7 separate regions of the Homo sapiens genome follow, and regions 1, 2, 3, 4, 6 and 7 are each linked to region 5. The links are contacts of gene promoters, found by promoter capture Hi-C in blood cells and fetal thymus (Javierre and others, 2016). All regions are on one chromosome and are shown on one strand. The core of a region is centred on a gene start or on the middle of the fragment in contact, and the rest is flanking DNA. Distances in the headings are between cores, read along the strand shown. Region 1 overlaps APBB2 (amyloid beta precursor protein binding family B member 2). Region 2 holds the start of NSUN7 (NOP2/Sun RNA methyltransferase family member 7). Region 3 overlaps NSUN7 (NOP2/Sun RNA methyltransferase family member 7). Region 4 overlaps APBB2 (amyloid beta precursor protein binding family B member 2). Region 5 holds the start of RBM47-AS1 (RBM47 antisense RNA 1). Region 6 overlaps NSUN7 (NOP2/Sun RNA methyltransferase family member 7). Region 7 overlaps APBB2 (amyloid beta precursor protein binding family B member 2).

Evidence for each region. The method cuts DNA at HindIII sites, captures the fragments that hold promoters and counts their contacts. A CHiCAGO score of 5 or more calls a contact.
Region 1: a contact is called between a fragment that was not itself captured here and the fragment with the promoter of RBM47-AS1 in region 5, in 1 of 17 cell types (neutrophils). The highest score is 6.2, in neutrophils.
Region 2: the fragment with the promoter of NSUN7 here is called in contact with the fragment with the promoter of RBM47-AS1 in region 5 in 2 of 17 cell types (neutrophils and total CD4 T cells); the score reaches 14.9 in neutrophils.
Region 3: a fragment that was not itself captured here is called in contact with the fragment with the promoter of RBM47-AS1 in region 5 in 1 of 17 cell types (neutrophils); the score reaches 7.3 in neutrophils.
Region 4: a fragment that was not itself captured here is called in contact with the fragment with the promoter of RBM47-AS1 in region 5 in 1 of 17 cell types (neutrophils); the score reaches 12.6 in neutrophils.
Region 6: a contact is called between a fragment that was not itself captured here and the fragment with the promoter of RBM47-AS1 in region 5, in 1 of 17 cell types (neutrophils). The highest score is 5.9, in neutrophils.
Region 7: a contact is called between a fragment that was not itself captured here and the fragment with the promoter of RBM47-AS1 in region 5, in 1 of 17 cell types (neutrophils). The highest score is 5.3, in neutrophils.

The regions. Positions count from the first base shown.
Region 1 is chr4:40,914,796-40,917,962 of GRCh38, forward strand. All of the region lies in intron 10 of APBB2 (amyloid beta precursor protein binding family B member 2), which reads right to left. Among named protein-coding and RNA genes, the nearest start is that of NSUN7, 170 kb to the left of the region's middle. The HindIII fragment of the contact is 2,897 bases long and covers 62-2,958 here.
Region 2 is chr4:40,748,181-40,751,403 of GRCh38, forward strand. It overlaps NSUN7 (NOP2/Sun RNA methyltransferase family member 7), which reads left to right and starts at 1,775. Exons shown (of 12, transcript NM_024677.6): 1 at 1,775-2,120; 2 at 2,423-2,811. The coding sequence starts at 2,514. The HindIII fragment of the contact is 13,723 bases long and covers 1-3,223 here.
Region 3 is chr4:40,774,939-40,778,300 of GRCh38, forward strand. It overlaps NSUN7 (NOP2/Sun RNA methyltransferase family member 7), which reads left to right. Exons shown (of 12, transcript NM_024677.6): 6 at 1-12; 7 at 1,111-1,321. Among named protein-coding and RNA genes, the nearest start is that of NSUN7, 27 kb to the left of the region's middle. The HindIII fragment of the contact is 8,749 bases long and covers 1-3,362 here.
Region 4 is chr4:40,845,794-40,849,194 of GRCh38, forward strand. All of the region lies in intron 12 of APBB2 (amyloid beta precursor protein binding family B member 2), which reads right to left. Among named protein-coding and RNA genes, the nearest start is that of NSUN7, 98 kb to the left of the region's middle. The HindIII fragment of the contact is 8,965 bases long and covers 1-3,401 here.
Region 5 is chr4:40,424,707-40,427,861 of GRCh38, forward strand. It overlaps RBM47-AS1 (RBM47 antisense RNA 1), which reads left to right and starts at 1,427. Exons shown (of 2, transcript NR_199039.1): 1 at 1,427-1,476; 2 at 2,082-2,876. It overlaps RBM47 (RNA binding motif protein 47), which reads right to left. Exons shown (of 7, transcript NM_001098634.2): 7 at 1-1,437. The coding sequence ends at 1,198. RefSeq lists an enhancer at 716-1,915. The HindIII fragment of the contact is 3,876 bases long and covers 1-2,522 here.
Region 6 is chr4:40,796,235-40,799,275 of GRCh38, forward strand. NSUN7 (NOP2/Sun RNA methyltransferase family member 7) reads left to right here. Exons shown (of 12, transcript NM_024677.6): 10 at 2,553-2,670. Among named protein-coding and RNA genes, the nearest start is that of NSUN7, 48 kb to the left of the region's middle. The HindIII fragment of the contact is 1,275 bases long and covers 1,121-2,395 here.
Region 7 is chr4:40,885,253-40,888,314 of GRCh38, forward strand. All of the region lies in intron 12 of APBB2 (amyloid beta precursor protein binding family B member 2), which reads right to left. Among named protein-coding and RNA genes, the nearest start is that of NSUN7, 140 kb to the left of the region's middle. The HindIII fragment of the contact is 6,616 bases long and covers 1-3,062 here.

The DNA.
Region 1 (3,167 bases), core at 260-2,759, 490 kb after region 5:
ACAGAGCAAGAATGGAGGGGCATAGGATAGCAGGGTGGGGGGTGGTGCTTAATTACTCTTAAGCTTTCTAGATTTTGGTGTAGTGAGTTGCAGGCACTAGAAACCATGAGTCCCTGGGTTTTTGTCCTAGTTCTGCTACTGACTAGAACCTTCAGGATGTCACCTGATTTACTCAGACCTCATTTTAGTCATCTGACAAGAGAGGGGAAGGGGGCAGTTGAGGAGGGAGAAGGGTTTGGGCTAAAAGATAACTCAGGACATTGCCTGCTGTGAAATACCTCTCAAACACTTTATCCGACTCTTGTCCCCACTGGTTATTCCTTTGGCTTAAAGGCACAGTGGCCTCCAGGCCAATCCTTCATCCACTAAGGACTCATCACCATGGGCTCCCCCCACCCTCCCAATCTACCTGCTTCCCTCTCTCATCTCGTACTCAGTGTCACCTTCTGGGAAGCCTCCCTGATTACTTAAAGCTGCTACTCCTCCTGGCACTCGCTCACACTCTTCCCTGCTGTTTTTCTCCATAGTAAGTCTTTTCACCTGATGTACTTTTATTCCACTTGTGTGGTTCTCTCTCCACACCCTGGAATGTACGTTACACAAAGGCAGGGACTTGGTCTGCAGTATCCTCAGCCCCGGAGCGCAGAGCCTGATCCTAGTGAGTGTTAAATGAATGTATATCTGCGAAGTTGGCCTTAAAACAATACCTGGTACTCAGTAAAAGTTACTGATAACTATCTTCAGGGCTAATTTCACTTTTCACTGTTGTTTTCTAAGAAAGGTTTTACTGTACCAGTCACCAAGAAATGAAAAGTCTGCAACTTTTTGCAAAGTGTCTGAAATGAACTCAGTGAGTTCATAACGTGCAAAGACCTACAAAGACTTCAATTAAAAGCACGGCTGTTCCCAACCCCAGAGAGAAGATTTATGAAGTCTGAGCTCTCCAGGCTGACTCCTGGGATTCTGCACTGTGCTCTCGGGGGAGGAGCATTTAACCACAGCATGGAGACCCAGAACACAAGGGCTCTGGGACCCCGGAACCCGGCCATCTCATTTCACGAATGAGTAAATCCAAGTCCTGAGAGCATTAGCCAGAGTTGTGACTAATAAGAAGGAAGCTCTGCCTTGAGGGAGTGGAGCTGGCACTGCAGGGTCCTGGGCCCTGTGTGAGTGAAGTCTGTCTTTAAAGAGTTTCTTTGGTAACTGCCCAACACTCAGGGAAATGGTCCCTGACCGACTGGAACTCAGTGTGTAATGCAAAGGTGAAGTAAATACAAAGAAACTCTCTGCCAAGATAGGCATGGTAATTGCAGAAGAGAAAACATTTTAGGTAGTTGTTCTAAAGAATTTGCTGTAAATTAGATATGATGAATTCCTACGGGGAGGAATGTATGTGCACAGAGCTGAGACATGAAAAAGGAGACCACAGTCAGCCACAGACTGGAATTAAGGCTAGAAACCTAACCCCAGAGCTGAGAAGGTATCTGAGGAGGAGACATCTCTCAGGCTAGACCTGAAGACAGACAGACAGACAGACAGACAGAATGAAGTGCTCCCTTGTGGCTTCTGCTCACAAGAAGGCAAAAAGTGGATGCTGTCATTGGCAAGCCTGTTCCAGAAGCATGTGTCATGTTCCTAAGATAGTCACTTCCCACCCGTTCTGCACATGGAGATTGGCAACTGTTCCTCAGTATTGGCTGAGCTGCGATTTTCAAAATGCAAGAAGATATGTTTCCCTTTGAAAGAAACAATTTGGCCCATGTAGACTTATGTGGTTGGATTTTGTTCCAAGTAGGTAACATACCCGTGTCTCTGTGCAATCATGTCTTACCCTGTGTGTACGTGGCCACCAGGAAAGACAGACAGGGAGAAACTGAAGGAAGCCCAGGAGGTCCAGAAACTAGAAACTATTCTGAGAGCGAGCATGACTGACCGACCCTGGTGATCACACAAAAACAAGGAGGGACCCAGAGGATGTTGCGAGGCAATGGATTCCCAAAATTCCAAGAGAAGCAACCGCAGGTGAGATCCTGTTGTGAAGCCTTGAGATGGTGACGGGGCAGAAGTATGCAGTGAACGGGAGACCTGAGTGTGGAGTCTGTGGTGGGGAAGGTCAGAGGGAAGAGGGGAGGACTTCGTATCATGCAGCCTACACAGCCTGCAGGCCATGATACCACGTCCCTGGGCTCTGCTGCACCGCAGACTTCTGCAGGCTTCCTCAAGTGGCCAGGGCTCTCACTCAGGGTCAAGTCAGGGCGGCAACTCCTGTGCTGTGTTGACTGCGGCTCATTACTGCCACCTGTGGGACAACTGGGACTGTCTTCTGAATGGACCTGGGGTGGGTCTAGTGATTTGAGGCCCTGCAGAAGTTTATTGATCCCAAATCTGAACTCCAACTGCAGATGGTAGCTCATCTCTTCACCTTCATATTCTGCTATTCTCTAAGTGAACTCCAGCTCCCCAGCTAGCCCCAGAACCTGGCTTTTAGAGCTGAACTCCAAGATTTCTTGTCTTCAGCTTGATGGATGAGGCCCATCAAAGAAAGGGAAGTGACTTGCCCAAGGTCTCCCGGGCTGGAAGCAGCAGAGACGGGTGAACAGTGGGGTCCTCTGTCCACAGTACTCATCCCACCACCTGCTACGGTCCCCTGACAAGCCACTGAGGTCAGGGTCCCCATGTGTATTTTTTTCATATCCCACAATACCTAGGTAAGTGCTAAGCAGATAACCAGTACTTAAGATCTCTCAATGAATTTTTTTCATCCAATGAGAAAATTTAGACTATCCAGAGAAAAAAACACCAAAAATAATTAAAGCAACATGAGTTCTGTGAATTATAAAGGTAGAGGGAGTTGAGGTCAATTTTATCAGAGAGGGAATGGGTTATCTTAAAGTATTTGAATGAGTTGGGAAAATATCAACCAAGAGTTGCCCTTCTACAGGATATCAAAGAAGTAGAAGCTTTGGAATGATGAGGAGTATTTGCAGAACAGTAATGGTGAACTTCTTAAGAAAAAGAGATGTTAAAACAAGGAATCCTCTACCAAGGGTGCTGTGTGCTTTTTATCCACAGGGCAAAGGTTTAAAAACAGAGTGATCAGTTAACTCTCCCTATGAACCTTCTTGTTTTAACAGAGATGAATGGACCAGAGACTCAGGTTTATTCTG
Region 2 (3,223 bases), core at 525-3,024, 320 kb after region 5:
AACAAAAATGAAAAGGTGACAAAATACAAATATATCCATCTTTAATTTCTTGAGGGCAAGGTCTTTGATCATTTCTTTTTTTTTTGAGACGGAGTCTGGCTCTGTCACCCAGGCTGCAGTGCAGTGGCCCAATTTCGGCTCACTGCAACCTCCGCCTCTCGGGTTCATGCCATTCTCTGGCCTCAGCCTCCTGAGTAGCTGGGACTACAGGCGCCCGCCACCACGCCCGGCTAATTTTTTTGTATTTTTAGTAGAGACGGGGTTTCACCGTGTTAGCCAGGATGGTCTCGATCTCCTGACCTCGTGATCCGCCCGCCTCGACCTCCCAAAGTGCTGGGGTTACAGGCGTGAGCCACCGCGCCCGGTCAGGTGTCTGATCATTTCTATACATTCATTATTTTACTTGTAGGGCTGAACACAATGCCAGGGACACAGCAAGAATTTAATATATACTTGTTAAACGAACGAATGAATGCATGTATACATAAAATGTTACGGAATGTTTAACGTATTCCGGGGATAATGAAAGTGGGTGGATTTCTGAGAGAAGGGGTCAGGGTTAGAGTTCTGTACTGCTAATTTTTTCCCCATTATCCATTCTCTCCTTCTTCTACAGTAATAGTTCCCTTATTTTTAGCTGGACACATTTACCAGCCTCTTGGTTGCTGGGTATATGACTGAGTTCTGACCAATAAAATGTGAGCCAAAGTGATATGTGCACCTTTCAGGTCATTGAAAAATATGGGCTGCCCTCTCTTTCCCCTTCATCCTACTAACCACTGGCTGGAAATGGAAATGGCCTTAGCCTAAAGAAGGAAGGGCAAATCCCTAAGGAGGAAAGGCAGAGGTGGAATTAGGACCAGTTGTCTTTCAACTATACCAGAGTTTTTCAAACTGTGGTCTTTGGGCTGATTGCATCAGAATCGCCAGTTACCTGATAAAAATGCAAATTACTGGGTCTTAGCAACTCAAATCTCTAGGATGGGTTCCAAGGATTTTTTTTTAGCTGGAGGCGGTGGTTCACGCCTGAAATCCCAGCACTTTGGGAGGCCGAGGAGGGAGGACTCCTTGAGCCCAGGAATTCGAGACCACCCTGGGCAACATAATGGGAACCCTGTCTCTGTTATTAAAAAAAATTATTACAGACGGCGCAGTGGCTCACGCATGTAATCCCAGCACGTTGGGAGGCCAAGGCCGGCAGATCACTTGACGTCAGGAGTTCGAGACTAACTTGATCAACACGGTGAAACCCTGTCTCTACTAAAAATACAAAAATTAGCAGGGTGTGGTGGCGGGCGCCTGTAGTCCCAGCTACTCGGGAGGCTGAGGCATGAGAATCACGTGAACCCGGGAGGAGGAGGCTGCAGTGAACCGAGATTGCGCCACTGCACTCCAGCCTGGGCGACAGAGCGAGACCATGTCTCAAAAAAAAAATTATTACTATATTTTAAAAATATTTTAAAGAATGTGTAGTTTTAACAGGGACTTCAGGAACTTGTGAGTTAAAACCACGGAACTACGTCAGACTACCTCAAAAATATCCCCAAATGTTTATAAACAAAGCCAAGGGCACGCACTCAGGCCCGGTGAGGTCCAGGAACTGTGCAAGAGGCCTCTGGCTCGGAGGGGCTGAAACAGGTGTCTCCGCGCGCTGGGGGAAGAGCGACTCTCCCGGCAACAGGTAGCACCCGCCAAATCCCGCGGGAACGGCCCTCGCGCCGCGCCCCCTGCCCCACCTCCGCTCGCGGTTGCCATGAAGACCCGGTCCGGGAGCAGTCGACTGCCGGAGACTCGGGAGGCTGAGCTTTCCTCGGCCTGAGCCAGCCAGACCCCGGGCACCGCGCTCACCCCTCTTCGCCGCCACGTCCGCGAAGGCCTCACGCGCGAGGCCAGGCGAGGCCCCGAGGCGCCCACCACTTCACGACACCGGAGCGAACCGGGCGCCAGAGGCTGCGACCCCCCTGCCCCGAATCCTGCCGGTGGGAGTGGCTGCATTTGAACCAAACGGCCTTCGCGGGCAGCAGCCGTCGCCCCGCAGTCCCGGGGCTCCCAAGGGCCTGTGACCGACGCCGCCCTCCGCGTCTTCGTCCCCGAAGCCCCGGGAACCATCCGCCCTCGGGGTAAGGGAGGAGTCGGGGGAGCCGGTGACTGGGCTGTGGGGACGCGGACGGGGCTCCGGGGGCAGCTCTGCCCCCAGACTGGCTTGAGGGAAGCCGTCGGTCTCCTTGGGGCTCTTCTCCCTCCGCCGCTGCACCCCTCCTCGCTTTTTTTTTTTTTTTTGAGCGTCCCAGGCTCGAAGTCTGGGACACTCAGATGGGACGGGAAATGCTCCCTCTTAGTCTTTAAGGCCACAACGAAGGGGGCCACCCACAGGGGTGCTGCAGAAAGAGTGATTTACTGCAATCACCTTCTCTCTTCACAGAGACCATGCTGCAGATGCGAGGAAAGCCGTTTCCTGGAACATCGGAATTCTAACCCCAGGGTGAAGGACTCACGACAGGCGAGGGGCAGACATGCTGAATTCCACGGGCGAACTGGAGTTTTCGAACGAAGAAGATCCCGAGATCATCTCCCAACTCACTTCCCTGCCTCTGTCCGGTGGGAAAAGCTCAGCTGGTGTGCCCGAAAAAACGGGCTATCCGGACTCCGTTTATGTCATGGCAGCCAACATTTTTCAGGGTATTCGAATCGAAAAGTCGGCACAGAAAGTCTTAATCAAGTATGGGAATGAACCCCTGCGGTCCTTGTCCGAGTCTGAGGATCAGTCCTTTCAGCGTTTGTCTTATGAGCTGGCTTTCAGTGCCCTGAAATGTGAGTTGTGCCAGTCTGGAAGATCAACACTAAAAGAAAATAATAGCGAGAGAATTTGGGGAATGCAGCCCTCCTCCTCCCTTCCCCTCATTCACACCAGGTTTTGGTTTTAGGCATGTGCATATCTTTGGTTAATTGCAAGTGTCAAGGAATTAGGGTTCCCATGAAACTAGCTCTTCCAGCCCAGGATTGCAGATTTCCCCGTGCACTGTGTTTGTCCTTAGATCGGTGTAGTGCGCGGTCATTACATTCAACAAGGAAACAATTTATTCCAATGATCATTTCCCTCTCCCTGTATTTTTTTTTCCCTCGTAGACTTAGGGGTCTCGCTTTATTGTCTGGGCTGGTCTCAAACTCTGGACCTCAAGGAATCCTCCCTCTTCAGCTTCCCAAAGTGCTGGGATTACAGGCA
Region 3 (3,362 bases), core at 138-2,637, 350 kb after region 5:
CTTATATTTCAGGTAAACTAATATTTACTTTCATTGTGATTCTCAACAATCCAACCTAGCCAAAGAACTTCTCCACTTAAAAATAAAACCTAACACTGTTTATATTTTTATAGATTATCAGGGAGGTTTATAAGGCCTAATTGTCACCTTGAATAAAATTAATACCTCTACAATCAGTGCATCTGGTTGGCGTCTTTGTCTCATGTGAATTTATAAAGAACATATTCTTCTCCCAGATTCCATGAATGGGAAGATTTGCATTGCTGGCAGCTGTAAGGTTCTACTTTTCTCCCCTAAAGGAGAATTCAAGAGAAAGTACAATGAGACCTTTTCTTCCTTCCCTTTCTGGGGAAGATGCTAGTGCCATCTTGCATATGAAAAAACAATTGTAATAGTTTTTCATAATTTCTTTAATATAGTCTTATAGCTTTGATTTGTAAGAGGTATATAAAGGCTATCAATATAGGAAGAGAATGTGAGGTATAATGTAGTTTCAACAGAACGAAAATAAAAGGTATAAAAAAGTAGTTTAAATTCATTTTTACATCCTTAGATTCCAATTATTGCCTCAGATATACCTTGATCTTCTAAGGTTTATCCCTTTTCCACATTCATATTCTTGGGCAGAATCTCTTACCATATCAAGCACTGAGATCAACTGCAGAAGCCCAACCTGTCAAGCCCCCTTTGATGAGCTTCTCAAATATATTAATTTTAATCTCTGTGAGCTAGTGGCAATTTAGGTGACAAGGTAATGGGGAAGAGAAAATGGAAGTAGTAGATGAGTGGGTTTTTGTGAAGGGGTAAGAATGGGAGTTAAGATAGGACATCATTAATCTGTTGACCATATTTTAGAGATTCTGGCATTGCTTTATACAAAACTTAGACAGTAACAGTCATAATTTAGGCTAAACAAAGTTAAGCTCTTTGTTTTAAACATCAGTTGTCTTTGTTAACTCTTTACTTAGACATATATTAAGATGTTAAAACTAAAATTGGTTAGGTCTCTAATATTACTATGAGGTACTTTCTTTTATGTAAAGCAAATAGAAGTCAGCTTATATTTCTAGCCATACCCTTTGAAATTCTAATCATACCATTATCTTACAGGACAAATCTCGAAGTCTTGCTGTCCATTCTGTAAAGGCTTTATTAAATATGGATGATGATGTCTTAATGGTCAATACAGGCTCATGGTACACAGTTTCCCACATGTCAATTTTAACAAATAATAATACCTCAAAAGTATTTGTGTGTGGAGTACAATCACAAGCTAAGGATCCTGACTTGAAGACCCTTTTCACAAAAATAGGATGTAAAAGTATGTAAAAATATTTCTTCATTTGGTGATTATTGTTCTGCAAGATTTTAGAAACGTTAAAAAGTTTTAATTTATTAGTTTTTTTGTAATGTAAAAGCTCTATATGTGAACTAATATCTTAAAATCCTTACTAATCTATGTCTTATCAGGCTGTCCTTGTTGCTTAATTTGGTTAAACAACTGTGGGTTAAATTAATTTCTTGGTACTTTGTAATACTGTTTGACATTTAGCTCACATAATTTGAGGCTCAAACATTTAAAGTAGAAATGTATCATTTAATAAATAAGAATGATTATCATTTAATAAATACTTAAATAAGTGCTTAAGTGACAAAGATAATATCTAGGACTAGAAGCTAAGTCTTTTTTTTTTTGAGATAAAGTCTTACTTTGTTGCCCAGGCTGGAGTGTACTGATATGATCACAGTTCACCACAGCCTCTACCTCCTGGGCTCAAGAGGTCCTCCAACCTCAGCCTCCCAAGTAGCTGTGACTACAGGCTCATGCCACTATGCGTGGCTAATTTTTCTAATTTTTGTAGAGCCAAGGTTTTGCAGTGTTGCTCAAGCTAATCTCAAACTCCTGGGCTCAAGTGATCCACCTGCCTGGGCATCCCAAAGTCCTGAGATTACAGAGGCGTGAGCTACCAGGCCTGGCCTAGGAGCTGTCTTTTAGGCTTCTTGTTTTTTAAAAATGTTTCCATTGGATCATTCTAACTAAAGATTACATTTTATTATAGGTTCAGCGAGGCTGAAAAACTAAGCAAAACTTTTAACAGATTCACAGGGATAGGGAGACAAAAAGTGGAATTCAGGATTTGACCAGGAGAGGTAGCCTGGTAAATACTCAGGATTTCACTTGGAGTCCCGAAGTACATCTTGGATAGTGATCAGTCCTCCAAAGAATTAGAACCCCCATTCCAGTCATCTTAATTCCCAATTAGATTAAGGTGATCTGGGATTGCTAGTGCCCAGTCTTAGCTGCCTGCCAGAAGCAAAAGTAAATTCCCTCTGGAGGAAAACAACATCATCCTACATTTCTAATTATCTTCTAATTTTTTTCATTTTTTTAAATTTTTTTTTATTTTTCTGAGATGGAGTCTCCCTCTTGTTGCCCAGGCGGGAGTGCAGTTGGCACCATCTTGGCTCACTGCAACCTCTGCCCCCCGGGTTCAAGCGATTCTCCTGCCTCAACCTCCTGAGCAGCTGGGATTACAGGTACTCGCCAACATGCCCCGCTAATTTTTGTATTTCACCATGTTGGCCAGGCTGGTCTCGAACTCCTGACCTCAGGTGATCCACCCATCTTGGCCTCCCAAAGTGCTAGGATTACAGGCGTGAGCCACCGCACCCGGCCTGTATCTTCTAAATTTTTTCTAATGCAATATCTACCACTCAATTTTATAAAACACTGACAGAACAAGAAAAGATATGACTAAAACAGAAAGCACTGCAGTAGAAGCAGACCCACAGTGTATCTGGAGATACTGGATTTATCAGACGTGGACTTTAGTTTTACTTTTTTGAGACAGGGTCTTGTTATGTTGCCTAGGCTGATCTCATACTCCTGGGATCAAGCAATCCTCCTGCCTCAGCCTCTCAAGTAGCTGAAATTACAGGCAGGTGCCACTGCACCTGACTAAAAATGTACACTTTAAAATAACTATGATTAATAAGCTGGAGGGACTAAATGTCAAATTTTAGAATTTTAGCAAAGACCTGGAAACTATAATCAAAAAAGCTAAAAGAAAGTTCTAGAACTGAAAAATACAATGTGTGAAATTAGGAAATAAATGAGATATGGATTTTACAGTAAATTACACAGAAATGAAGATACAATGAGTGAACTGATAGGCCTGAAGAAAATATCTAGACTTAAGCATGGGGAGACAAAGGATATGAAAGAGGTCATAAGACACACATGAGACTCAGTGATTCAGTTATCTCATGTGTGTGTGGAATTGCAGATGGAGAGGAGAAAAGGAATTGGAAAGAAACAATATTTGAATTTCAGGCTGAGAATTCTTGAAAGTGGATGAAAG
Region 4 (3,401 bases), core at 84-2,583, 420 kb after region 5:
TTGCATGCTTCTTTTTGATGTTTGTCTTTCATCACTGGCCATCTCTCTAGCCTTTTGAGCACACATCACACCATTATCCACAGGACAATGAAGTAAACACTGCAAAACTTTACATCATGAAAATTCTTGCACCAGCTCCTGAGTCTGACAGTTTATTTTTTCCCTCCAGCTTCAGGGGTGGGTAGGTGGGTGTGGGTGGGTGGGTGGGTGGGTGTGAGTGGGGTGTGTGTGTGTGTGTGTGTGTGTGTGTGTGTCATTTATCAGCTGTCTGCCCTTGGTCAGGGCCCTTAGCCTCTTTGTTTTTCAGTTTCTTCATCTGTGAAATGGGAATCATAGAGGCCTTCAGGTCCTGAGAGTGCCATAAAATTCCATTATTTAATCCATATAAAGCTCCTACAGGATGGCGGCTTGAGTATGGCCTTACAGTGCAGGCCAGGCCAATCACTATGTGAGAGAGGGAAGGGGAGCTCCACGAGGAGAAAGGAAAGGTTCCTGACCTGTTTTGGATCAAGGCCCTCGGATGAAAACACTCCAAAAAAAAAAAAAAAAAAAAAAGTGCACAGACTCACAATTTTATACACAATTTTGGAAGGGGGCAGAGCTGGAACAGTTCAGTGATTCTTGAAACTCAATCCCAGGTCCCTTTAGAATCTACATGCCGCAGGTGAAAGGCCTCTGAACTGAAATGAATACTGAATTTATGCAAATTTACCATCTGATTTCTGGCTGATATTTAGAGAATTCATCTCAGGGAAAGGTTCTATCCTTCCCAGGATCAACCGGTGACATGAACAACCGTCTCTGACCAAGTGTGCCTTCCTTTCCAAAGCAAGCTCCCCTCCCACCTCACTGTCCTGCCCAGCAGCGCCATGATGGGAAAGTTAGACTTCCAGCACTTAGAAGTGTAAAGCCAGGAGTTAAAGTGGTTGAGGTTATTGAAATTCAAGGCACATTATTCTAAACAAAGGACTTTCTCATGCCATTGGAGGGAAGACACAATAGTTACCAGCCTGCTTACTAATGAGGAGGAGGGAAAAAGGATATTTAAAAGCAACCAGGAAACGAGTATTTTTAAAAGTCCATCTTTGAAGACTTTAAGCAAGAATTAACGAGCTTCAGCTTTCATCTGTGCTATATCACAGATTAAAAAAAAAACAAAAAACCAAATGCAAAAATCTTGCATCTCTGAATATCTGAGAGAAGAATACACACACAAATTATAGTTAGTTATTAAGTGAGAGATAATTTACACCATGTTCCAGTTTCAACTTTAAAGTTTAGGGTATAATGAAAGGATAACGTTATATAAATTCTACCTGAACTGTGAAACCATGGGTTAGCTTCCTTTCTGAAAGCCAAGATGGTAAAACAAAAATAAAAAATACCAGGTCAGGCATGGTGGCTCACACTTGTAATCCCAGCACTTTGGGAGGTTGAGGCAGGTGGATTACTTGAGGCCAGGAGTTCAAGACCAGCCTGCCAACATGACGAAACCCTGTCTCTACTAAAAATACAAAAATTAGCCAGGCATGGTGGCGCACACCTGTAGTCCCAGCTACTCAGGAGGCTGAGACGTGAGAATCACTGCAACCCGGGAGGTGGAGGTTGCAGTGAGCTGAGATCGTGCCTCTGCACTCCTGCCTGGGTGACAGAGCAAGACCGTCTCAAAAAAATAAAACAACACGAAACACCTTGACACCAGAAGGCTCCTATCTGACAAAGCACAGGAACGCATAAGGATTTAGAACTGATTCTGAGCAGGGAAAATGACAGCACAGTGGTTTCCATGCCAGAATGCCATGAGGGTACAAACTCCTGGCAAGGTGCAGACAAGCCTCCTACTTAAAACCACGGTGAGCACCCAGCCACATGGAGGACCTCTTGTGGATATGGTGAATCACTTTCTGAATTTTCAAGGGGCTTTCTTTGTGCCAGTTCAAAGGAGTACTAGGGTAGATAACATGGAAAGCCAATACATATGGCCTTCATTTGAATTGTTTGTTGTTTTTGCTTGCTTTTTTTTTTTTTTAAGAGATGGGATCTCGCTCTGTTGCCCAGGCAGGAGTCCAGTAGCACGATCATAGCTTACTGCATCCTCAAACTACTTGGCTCAAGCAATCCTCCGGCCTCAACCTCCCAAGTAGCGGGGGCTATAGGTGTTTGCCATCATACCCGGCTAATTTTTTATTTGTTGTAGAAATGAGGTCTCACTATGTTGCAAAGGTTGGTCTCAAACTTTTGGGCTCAAGCAATCCACCCACCTCAGCTTCTCAAAAAAGTATTTGGATTACAGGCATGAGCCACTATGCCCAGTCCTGAATTTTGTTAACTTCCATCTAGATACAAGTATTTCTGGTATAATGTAAACTCAATAATATCTAAAGAAAAGCAGACACCAACCCTAGGAAGGCTGATTACCACTAACCAAGTAACAGTAGCGGCTCCTGGCTATGATTGCTTCTGTCTAGCCAGGCTCTATTCTTGCTGCGCACTGTCGCCAAGCCACACAATAACCTTGCAGGGGGAAGCATCACGACTCATTTTACAAATGAGGAATTGAAGGGTCAGAGAGTTTAAGTTGACTTGCTCCAAAGCCCACAGCTAGCAGGTGGTAGATCTGCAAACAGAACACAGGCCTGCTGGCTGGGCTCTTTCCTGCCGTGTAGCTCTGGGGCACCTAGCACCTGAGCCTGGCTCCCTCCCAGTTAATTGGCTCTGCTCAGGACCCCATCCCTCACTGGAGGTAGCCTCTGCTCTGCCTTTCTCTCTCTGTCCCCATTGGACTTTTGGTTCCACCACTGCTGGAGCTCGTGATGGTAATTAAGTGCTGTGTTTGGTTTAAATTACCTTCCTTTCATCATCTGCTCAGTAGCCACTTATTCCATGACTCCTCTGCTTACAATTCCCAACCCCCACCCGCCCCACCGCCGCAAACTCCCTGCCTCCAGCCACACTGGGACCGTTTTGCTCCGAAACATACAAGCCCGCCCCTGCCTGGGCTTGCTGATCGGCTGCTTGGTCTGCTTTTCCCCCAGGTCCTCCCCTCATCATCCTGATCATCACTGCCTCCAAAAGAACCCTGAGGATCCCCCAGTCATTGTCAACATTCACAGCCATCTGAAGCTACCCTATTTCCCTCTCTCCACCAAGAAAGTAAAGCTCATGCGAGCAAGAACCTTTCTGCCTGTTCACTTACCACTGTCTGGCACATAGTAGGCAATCAATCAATATTCTTGAATATGTGAATAAATACCTAAGTAGGGGAAAGAGTGAACTCCCTTCTTCCTGATCAGGTTGGTAAGAAGCTAAGGGAATGATGCCACAAACAGTAGGGAGTTGGCTGGATTCCTTTTTCTCCTGCTATTGCTCATCACAGACAGCGCTTTTAAAATGACTTTGGT
Region 5 (3,155 bases), core at 177-2,676:
ATGGACAGTTTTGCAAGAAACATGGTAAGGCAACTAGAAGCATAACTTTCTGCTGAAAAGAGTCTCTGGGGGTCTTGTCTACGATAACATACATTCTTTGTCCCTACAAACTCATACTTCAAAAATGAATAAAAGCATTAGAAATGGCATTAAAGTTTTACATTGGGCAATTAAATAGCTATGCAAAGGTGTCTTATGCAACTCGATTAAAACCTTGTGCTTACTCTGCTACTGAAAATAGCACACGTAGAAGACAATACTTCCCCAACCAAACAAAAAAAAAAACAAAAAACAACGAAACAACAAACCCCAACAAAAACCCAGGAAGAAGTATAAAAGCCACCAGCTCCTCTATCAGAGCTACTTATCAGTCCTAGGCTTGCCAAACATTGCGGTGGGATTGGGAATCTGGGGAGGAGGGGACAGGGTGAGAGATGTGGGAGTGGGGGCATGTTTAAGGCTAAGGCACATGGAGAATGAGCCCCGGCTAACGGTGGCAAAGGAGAGCTTTCCAGTGTTTGGACTCAGAAGTGCGGCAAGTCTTTTCAATGTTGGCTTAAGGAGAGATCCAGTGTTTAATTTCTTTTAAAAAATAGTACCGCCATGATGATACATGGTAACACCATCAACCCTTAATGCCAGCAGAAATACAGAGGTTTTACTCATTTTAAAATTGCACTTTCCAGTATAACCTTTAAAATAATGCTTTATGTAGTATTTTTAAGCACTACTGTTTGTATCTTTAAATATTGTATATATTTTTCAAAATAGTTCCCTAGCTCCTCAAGTGTGCTTTTTTAATATATAGTTGATATATTATTGAAGGTACTACAAAATAGAAATCTCTGGAGTGCAGAAGTTAAGAAAATAACCTTCATACTGAAAATATATCCTTAAAAAAACAACAACAAAAACCTCTATACAAATGTAGTACAGCATACAAATTTTTAAAAGATGGAATGAAGGCACGAACCATTGCAAGTCTTTTGGAAATGTATGAACGTAGGCATGCTAAGTTGAAAATAGTCTTAAAAAACTAGTGAAAACTTCATGTATATAAAATAATTCAGAAATAAATCTGCTAACATTCTTCACTTTCAGGTTGCATGTGTGAATCCAACATGTTCCTTCTTCATAAATAGTCAAGCGTTCCTTCAGTGGTGTTTGTGTGGTCTGTCTTCGTGCTGGTCACCAGCCTCAGTATGTCTGGTAGACGTCGGGGATGGGGACCTGAATGGCAGCAGCAGGGAAGGCCTGAGGTATGTAGCCTGCGTATCCTCCATACATGGCGGCCGCGGCTGCCGCGTTCTTCTGTAGTGTGGCGATCGTGGCTGTAGCTGGAGCAGCAAATGGCACGTAACTGGCCCCGTAGATCCCGGCAGTAGGAATTCTCTGAACGTTTGGAGCCACCGTGTATACTGGAGTTATTGGGCGGCCCTGAGGAGAAGAGACAAAAAGGAGCCTTCCTGAACACGTGTATGTACCTATCATCCATTCATTCAACAAGCCTCTCCCAGAAGACGGGAATACAAAGACACAAAAGCAAGGGAGAGAAAGGCAGAGGGGCGGGCAAACAGCAATTATTGTAAGCAAGTGGGAGAAGAGCCACTGAAGAGGTAAGGTGGAGCTGCATCCTCAAACTCAGTGATGCCACCTTGTGAAAGTGAGAGGCCTGGAAGGCTGAGGGAAAGGTGAAATACAGTTGCCCCTCAGTATCCTCACAGGTGATTGGCTCTAGGACCTCCGTGGATACCAAAATCCTCAGATGCTCGAGTCCCTGAGAGAAAATGGCGTATTTGCATTTAACCTATGCACATCCTCCTGTATACTGTAAAAAAATTTTTTTTCATAGAGACAAGGTCTCACTATGTTGCCCAGGGCTGGTCTTGAACTCCTGGCCTCAAGCAATCCTCCTGTCTCAGCCTCCCAAAGTCTTGGGACCCATACACTTTAAAAATAATCTCTAGATCACTTATAATACCTAATATGATGCAAATGTTATGTAAATAGTTGTTATATCGTATTTTGACATTTGTATTTTTTTATTGTTGTATTGTTATTTTTTATTGTCTTTATTCAAGCCACGGTTGGTTGAATCCAGATGCAGAAACTGCGGATAAGGAGGACCTTCTCTGTACTGTATTCCGGAATCTTCTACTTACCATTCCACTCAATCAGTCTATGCCCCAGAGTGAGCTAGAGAAGGCAGCGGAGAATCTACCATCCACACAATTGATTTCACAGTAATTAAAAATCAGTGTTTTTCCTTAAACATGGCCTCTAGATACATGCCAGCTGCCTCAACTCATACTTAACTGATGGAATATGATCTGTCTCAGAGACAGAGAGAGGAACAGACTGTGTCAACTTAGAGAAACCAAATATACTGATCTCCAAAGGGACAGCTTCTTAAGCTGTGACCTTAAAAAATTGTGACCATACACAATTTTCAGCCAATGTGATGGTTTCCATCACCTCCCACCTAAGAGATGACACCATTAATGTATACAAATTGTTGTAGAAGCTTAGAGAAAGAACCAACTAATGGGGAAGTTGGAGAAAATGTCTCAGCAGCGGGGATATTCGAGCTGAGTTTTGAAGGATAAAGAGCAGTTTCCAAATGAGGAAGAAGTGGGCAAGGACAAGCTAAGTAAAGTTGCCTGAACTGTTGACGGCCACCACTGGCTCTAGAAAAGCCCCTGCTACTTCCTTCTGTCTACTTGAAAGTGCAACATAAGATGTTTTCAGAACAAACAGGAGTATGAATGGGAAGACTGTGGTTCAGTATTTCCCAAAGTGTTTGCCATGGAACTAGTTCTGTGAGATGCTTCATTGAAAAGAGATTCTGAATAAAATAAAACATTCATTTAACAAAATATTTGGTGCACCTCATGAGCCATAGAATGCCTGGTAGTAAATGCTGGTATGGTCTCCCTATATGTTAATACATCTTCAAAATAAACAATTCAGCATATGTGAAATGGTGAATTAAAATAATTATTTCTTCCTGGATTTTTATAAAGGAATTAGCTCTAATTTCTGTTACAAAATTTGCAAATCAGAGTTCCAAAATTGTGCTCAAAGGAACTTAGGAACTTCTAGCCTAAGATTACTTTTTAAAACTATAATCAAATAGTAATTATAATTTATAATAA
Region 6 (3,041 bases), core at 508-3,007, 370 kb after region 5:
TCCCAGCTACTTGGGAGGCTGAGATATGAGAATCACTTGTTATAGTGAGCTGAGATTGCACCACTGCACTCCAGCCTGGGTGACAGAGTGAGACTCTGTCTCTAAATAAATAAATAAATAAGTGGGCTAGGCATGGTGGCTCATGTCTGAAATCCCAGTGCTTGGGAGGTCAACATGGTAGGATCACTTCAGGCCAGGAGTTTGAGACCAACCTGGACAACATAGTGAGACCCTGCCTCTACAAAAAATAAAAAAAGTTATCTAGGCATGGGGGCATGCAGGCTACTCGGGAGACTGAAGTGGGAGGATTGCTTGAGCCCAGGAGTTGGAGGCTGCAGTGAGCCATGATCACCTCACTGCACTCCAGCCTAGGCAACAGAGCAAGACCCCATCTATTAAAAAAATACAAATAAATCAAGTTATAAGAAACATGTCTCCTTATATCCTTTACACCTATTAATGACAATTAACTCAAGAGGCCCCGACTCCAGGTCATTCCTCATCTCCTATACTCTGGTCTCCATAACTCTCTTCATATCCCTTTGTCCACATCTCTCACTCTGTGCTCTCTAGAATTTATAGTTCCTCATCAACAAAAATTCCCTATATTTTAACTTCTTTGAATGTCCTCCCCCTTTGTAAAAAATTCCTGTAACTTGCCTTTCCCCTGGGAACAGTGTTTCCTCAGTCTTTCCTCTCCTTCTTTTTTGAGCTATTGCCATCACACGTTCACTCCTGCCACTAAACTGAAACGGTCCTGTGAAGATCGCCAGTGATCCCCATGCTGTTGTGTCAGTTGCCAGCCCTGGTCTACCTAGGTCTGTCTGTGGCAGTTGACAGAAGTGGTCGCTTCCTCTCCCTTCACACACTTCCATCACTTGTCTTCTAGGGCACCACCTTCCAGGCCTTCTCTCTGGCCTCCCCTTCTCTGTCTCCCTTACTGGGTCCTCTCTGTCTCAACACCCTGTTTAACATGGGAGTGTGCCACAGTCCATGCCTTGGATCTTTTTTCTCTGCCTATACTTATCCCTTGGTGATTGTATCTAGTCTTATGGTTTTAAACACCTCTATGTGACTCCCAAATCTGTATTTCCAGTCTAAACTTCCTCTTGAAACTCTAAGCTTATATTTCCAGCTGCCTTCTTGACATCTCCACTTAGGGACTCATAGTCATCTCAAAGCTAACATGTCTAAGGTGGAAGCTCTGATCTTCCTCCCGCCATACTTGTTCCTCCCACAGTACTGCCATTTCAGTTAATGATAGTTGTAGCCTTCCACCCGCTTAGGCTAAAAACGTTAGCATTATCCATGATTTCTCTTTCATACCCACAGCCAGTCTGTCAGTGTATGAGGTAGGTTCTACATTCAACTTATATCCAGAATATATCCAGCTACCTCCACCACTACCACGGTGTCCAAACCACCATCACCTCACACTTGAATTACTGTAATGACCTCCTAATTTCTCTGCCAGCCTCTGCCCCTGCCCTCTGCACTCTATTCTTAACACAGCAATTGGAGTGATCTTGTTAAAACCCATCATAACCCAAGTAAAAACCTAAGCCCTTCCGGTGGCCCACAAGTCCCTGTACTATCTGGGGCTCAGACCATGCTTTCTGACTTCGACTTACTACTCTCTCTTCATTCCCTCTGCTCTGATCAAACCGGCCCCTTCACTTTCCTGGAACATACCAGCACCATGTTGACTTCAGGCCTTTACACTGGCTGTTCCTTTACCTTAGAATGCTTTTCTCTAAATAGCTCTGTGGCTGGTTCCTTATCTCCATCTAGTCTACCCACAGTTTGCCATCTCAACAATGCTTTCTCTCACTGCTCTATTTCACACTATTTCTCCTGGAACTCTCTATCCCTCACCCGGCTCTGCTTTTCTCCATAGCATTGATCACTTAACAGTACTATATAGTTTTCCTATTTATCTCTGTCTTACTGTCTTTCTCCTCTACTAGAAAGTTAGCTCCACAGGGGCAAGGATTTTTGTTTGTGTTATTGTATCCCAAAGCCTAGAACAGTGCCTGTCTGGCAGGTGGTAGGTGCTCAATAAGTATGAATCAATGAGTGAATTGCAGGTGGTAGTATTACCTCATTTTACGGATGAAAAATTTAAGACTTTAAGTAATTTGCCCAGGTTCATACAGCAGTAAGTGACAGAACTGGGATTCACCTCTAAGTCTGTCTGTTTCTAGAGTCCTTTAAACTATTTAGGCAATATCGCTTGTAGAAGAATGGGCAGAAGTATCAAGTTCATGGTAACCTGCAGTATTTATTTATTTGTGTTTATAACTAAGTTGGCCTCATTTTTTGTTGAATTTTCAATTTCCATACAATCCAGTTAGAGTGACTTTACTTACTGGCCACAGACTAAATTACTAAGACAAGCTTTTACTTTAAAGGGGAGCCATTCAAGCATCTGGGGAAATTATTCTCATCAAAACCATGTGGTATTAGTATCAAATAGATGTTTGGAAACATAGCACATTTGTATAGGATTGTTAATATAGTTGTTACAGTCATTGCATCTTCTTCTAATATAGTTACTAAAGCTCAAGCAGTTGTTTACTGCACATGTTCAGTTTTTCCAGAAGAAAATGAAGCTGTTGTTAAGAAAGCACTGGAATTTCAAGACCTTGGGAATAAAGGACAACCTTACAGGTAAGAAAAGGAAGGATTCTTCTAAACAACTCAAACAAATATTTTTTAAAAGGAAAAATATTATTTTCTAAGTTGTATAAAGACATTCTACTTTTTAAAATTATACTTTAGTATGATAAAATTGCCTGACTTCTTACAAATTTAACCAAGATTCCATAGGGCCTTTTTCTTTTTTTTTTTTTTTTTTTTTTTTTTTTTAAAGATGGAATCTTGCTCTGTCATCCAGGCTGGAGTGCAGTGGCACCATTTCGATTCACTACAAACTCCGCCTCCCAGGTTCAAGCAATTCTCCTGCCTCAGCCTCCCAAGTGGCTGGGATTACAGGCAAGTGCCACCACGCCAGGCTAATTTTTGTATTTTTAGTAGAGATG
Region 7 (3,062 bases), core at 416-2,915, 460 kb after region 5:
CACAATAAGCTAACAGAATGTAGAGGAGGGGTCAGCCCATTAAAGGGAAGAAAGTTTTCTTATTGGGAAATGAAAATTAAGCGGGGAAGGGAATGAGGTATAACCTTATAAGGGGGATAATGAAACTTAGGTAATGTCCAGGAAGATTGTAGCCCCATAGTACTCGGCCAGTGAGGAATTGGGGGAGGGACTGGCGTGCTAGGAGATAAATTACCTGTTGTGACTGTCCCAGGTGTGCCTGCCCACCAGATACCCGATCTCGCAAGACTGTTATTAAAAAGTCTCACTTTCACTGTTCTTCGTGCCTCTAAGTCCATTCTTGGGGTTTGGATGGGTGAGTGTGTTTCTCATAGTTGCCATTCATTATGAAGAAATTTTATCTTCATTAGAGCAGGCCCAATGGGGTCTCCACTTATAATATTCATTAAAAGTAATTCCAATTTTTCTTAATAATCAAAAATAGCAGTTTAGTGTTGCCACGAATTTAAATGAATGAGTTTACTAATGACAGCAATATTTCCTGAAGTGTGTTCCATGTGATTGTGTTTCCACCGAGGAAACGGTCCAGCCAAGCCTGGGAAACGCTTTCTTGCAGAGTCCTAGTGCATCTCAGCGTAGGAAAACCTCTGAGAGGGCCCAGTGTACTTGGTTTAACTCAGTTTCCCAAGTGACTATAGAATCTTTTTTTTTTTCTCAAGGGAAAACCGTGGATTAATCACTGATAGGGAAGCCTCTTGGAAACATCCCATTTACGGGGTCTGAAACCCTCTGACAATATCCATTTTCCTTTCTTGTGGGAAATGGCTGAGATGAGCAGACTATAGGGCTCATTGGCGAAGTACACAAGGATCTCTGTGCCCCTACCCAGAAGATAAGCCTCCATCAACCACGAGGCAAGAGGGGAGTCCCTGTTCCAAGTTCCCTGTGTTCAGAAATTATGTTTTGGCTGGGCGCAGTGGCCCACGCCTGTAATCCCGGCACTTTGGGAGGCCGAGGCATGTAGAGCACCTGAGGTCAGGAGTTCAAGACCAGCCTGGCCAACATGGTGAAACCCTGTCTCTACTAAAAATACAAAAAATTGGCCGGGCGTGGTGGCGGGCGCCTGTAGTCCCAGCTACTTGGGAGGCTGAGGCAGAAGAACCGCTTGAAACCGGGGGGCAAAGGTTGCAGTGAATTGAGATTGCACCATTGCACTCCAGCCTGGGGAACAACAGTGAAACTCCATCTCAAAAAGAGAAAAAAAAAACAAAAGAAATTATGTTTGCTTGGCTTTGGTACTTCTGTAAAAGAATAAGGAGGAAGGTGCTCGCCAGGGTCTGAGTGAATAAGAAGAACGCTGAGGCCGGAAGTTAGCACAGGTCCCTGAAACTGGGTAGGGACATCCCTCCAAACTCACCTTTGAGACAGTAGCCTGGCAGGCCCACAGAGACAAGATGAAAGGGAGCATTCGGTCATTGGCCTCAGTCGCCAAGGGCAGAAATGCCAGTTCTAAGGCCCAGTGCACACACCTGCGTACGTCCTCCTTTGCACAGCAGGCAGGAGCAAAGCAGGCCAACCTGGGTGCTCCTGGGGCTGAACTAGATTGGAAAGACAAAGCTCATGAAACCCCTTGCCCCAGCCTCCATCTCCAGGGGCCGTGACATTTACCTCACTGATCAAAGGGAACAAAACTCAACTATGGCCAAGAAAGAGGAGGCAGCCCTCACTTTGCCAGGCAATAAAGCAAATGGGCCCCAAGAAACACCGTAATAAAGACAGACATGGCTCTCAACAAGACAAAGCCTTCAGCATAGTTGTGCGACAACCAAAACCCCACAGAAGACTGGTATCAGATGTGACTCAACTCCTTGTGCTGTTCATAGTAAGAGGTCTCTCCAACTCAACCCTGGGGGGCTCAGTGGGGGTGTCATAGCCAATCACCTCCTCATGCAAAGTAAACTCATTCCCGAAGGAATTTCTTCCAAGTAAATCAAAACCACTTGAAAGCCTTAAGAAAATGTCACATCCAAAATACTTTGATAATTTCTGAAATTACGTGGCTCAGGGAAGCACTCTGGATTTGCAGAAAGATTTTGCGCCCTTCATGTCTGGTATAATACACACTTCTCTTATTCATTTTAACCACATCAAGAAATCCCTGAAGAGATTCCACTTTCTCAGCAAGGAAAGTTACAAAAGAGAATGTGAAATGGGCTTCTTTTTCGCAAGCAAAAATGTTTTATTCATGCAAAGTGAAAAGCCCTTTCCTTTGCAACATTACAAATTGAATTTGCTCTTGTAAATTGCTGTTAAGGAAAAAAAAAGGAATCAAAAGCAAAGGAAAGTAAAAAAAGCAGGAGTACAAAGACCCCTTCTTCTGGGGAATGGAAACTCAGGGGACCAATGGGGAGAAACAGAACCTTTCACTGGCAAACACACTTTTAAAATTTACCGTTTCCATGCCAATCCAGCTGAAGGCAGCCACAACCCCATGATCTTGCTGAGGTCCTGCTAGCTATGTGGAACCCTCCCATGATCTCGCTGAGGTCCTGCTAGCTATGTGGAACCCTGAGCGTATTTCGAAATTACACTCATCTGCTGACACTGAGTGAGAATAAGAAGTGATTTAAAAACATGAGTAATACAGCCCACGTTTCAAAAACATAACCAAGGCAATGTAACCTAATTCACACTGATTTCATCAGGGAGTAGGAAGCTCTTCCTGCTTTGTAGGACAACTGAACTCATTAGGGTCTGGAACAGCCGCTCATCCTCTAGATCACGTGATCAAGCGTACTTCAAGTCTCCCTGCGGTCTGACTCCTCTCCGACCTCCACTGTCTTTAAAAGGAAGCCATGTCATTAGCTGCATCTGCTAGCGTGTGTTTAAAAATCAAGGGCTAACATTCATTAAGCATCTGTCATGTCCCTATCACTGAACCGATTACTGTATACACATGCACATGCACATATACGTATGTGTTGTGGTCCTTATTATGATCCTCACTTCACAGATGAGAGAACTGAGGCTCAGAGAACTTGAATAATTTTGTCAACTGGAGTTTGAATCATTTGTTTCCTTCC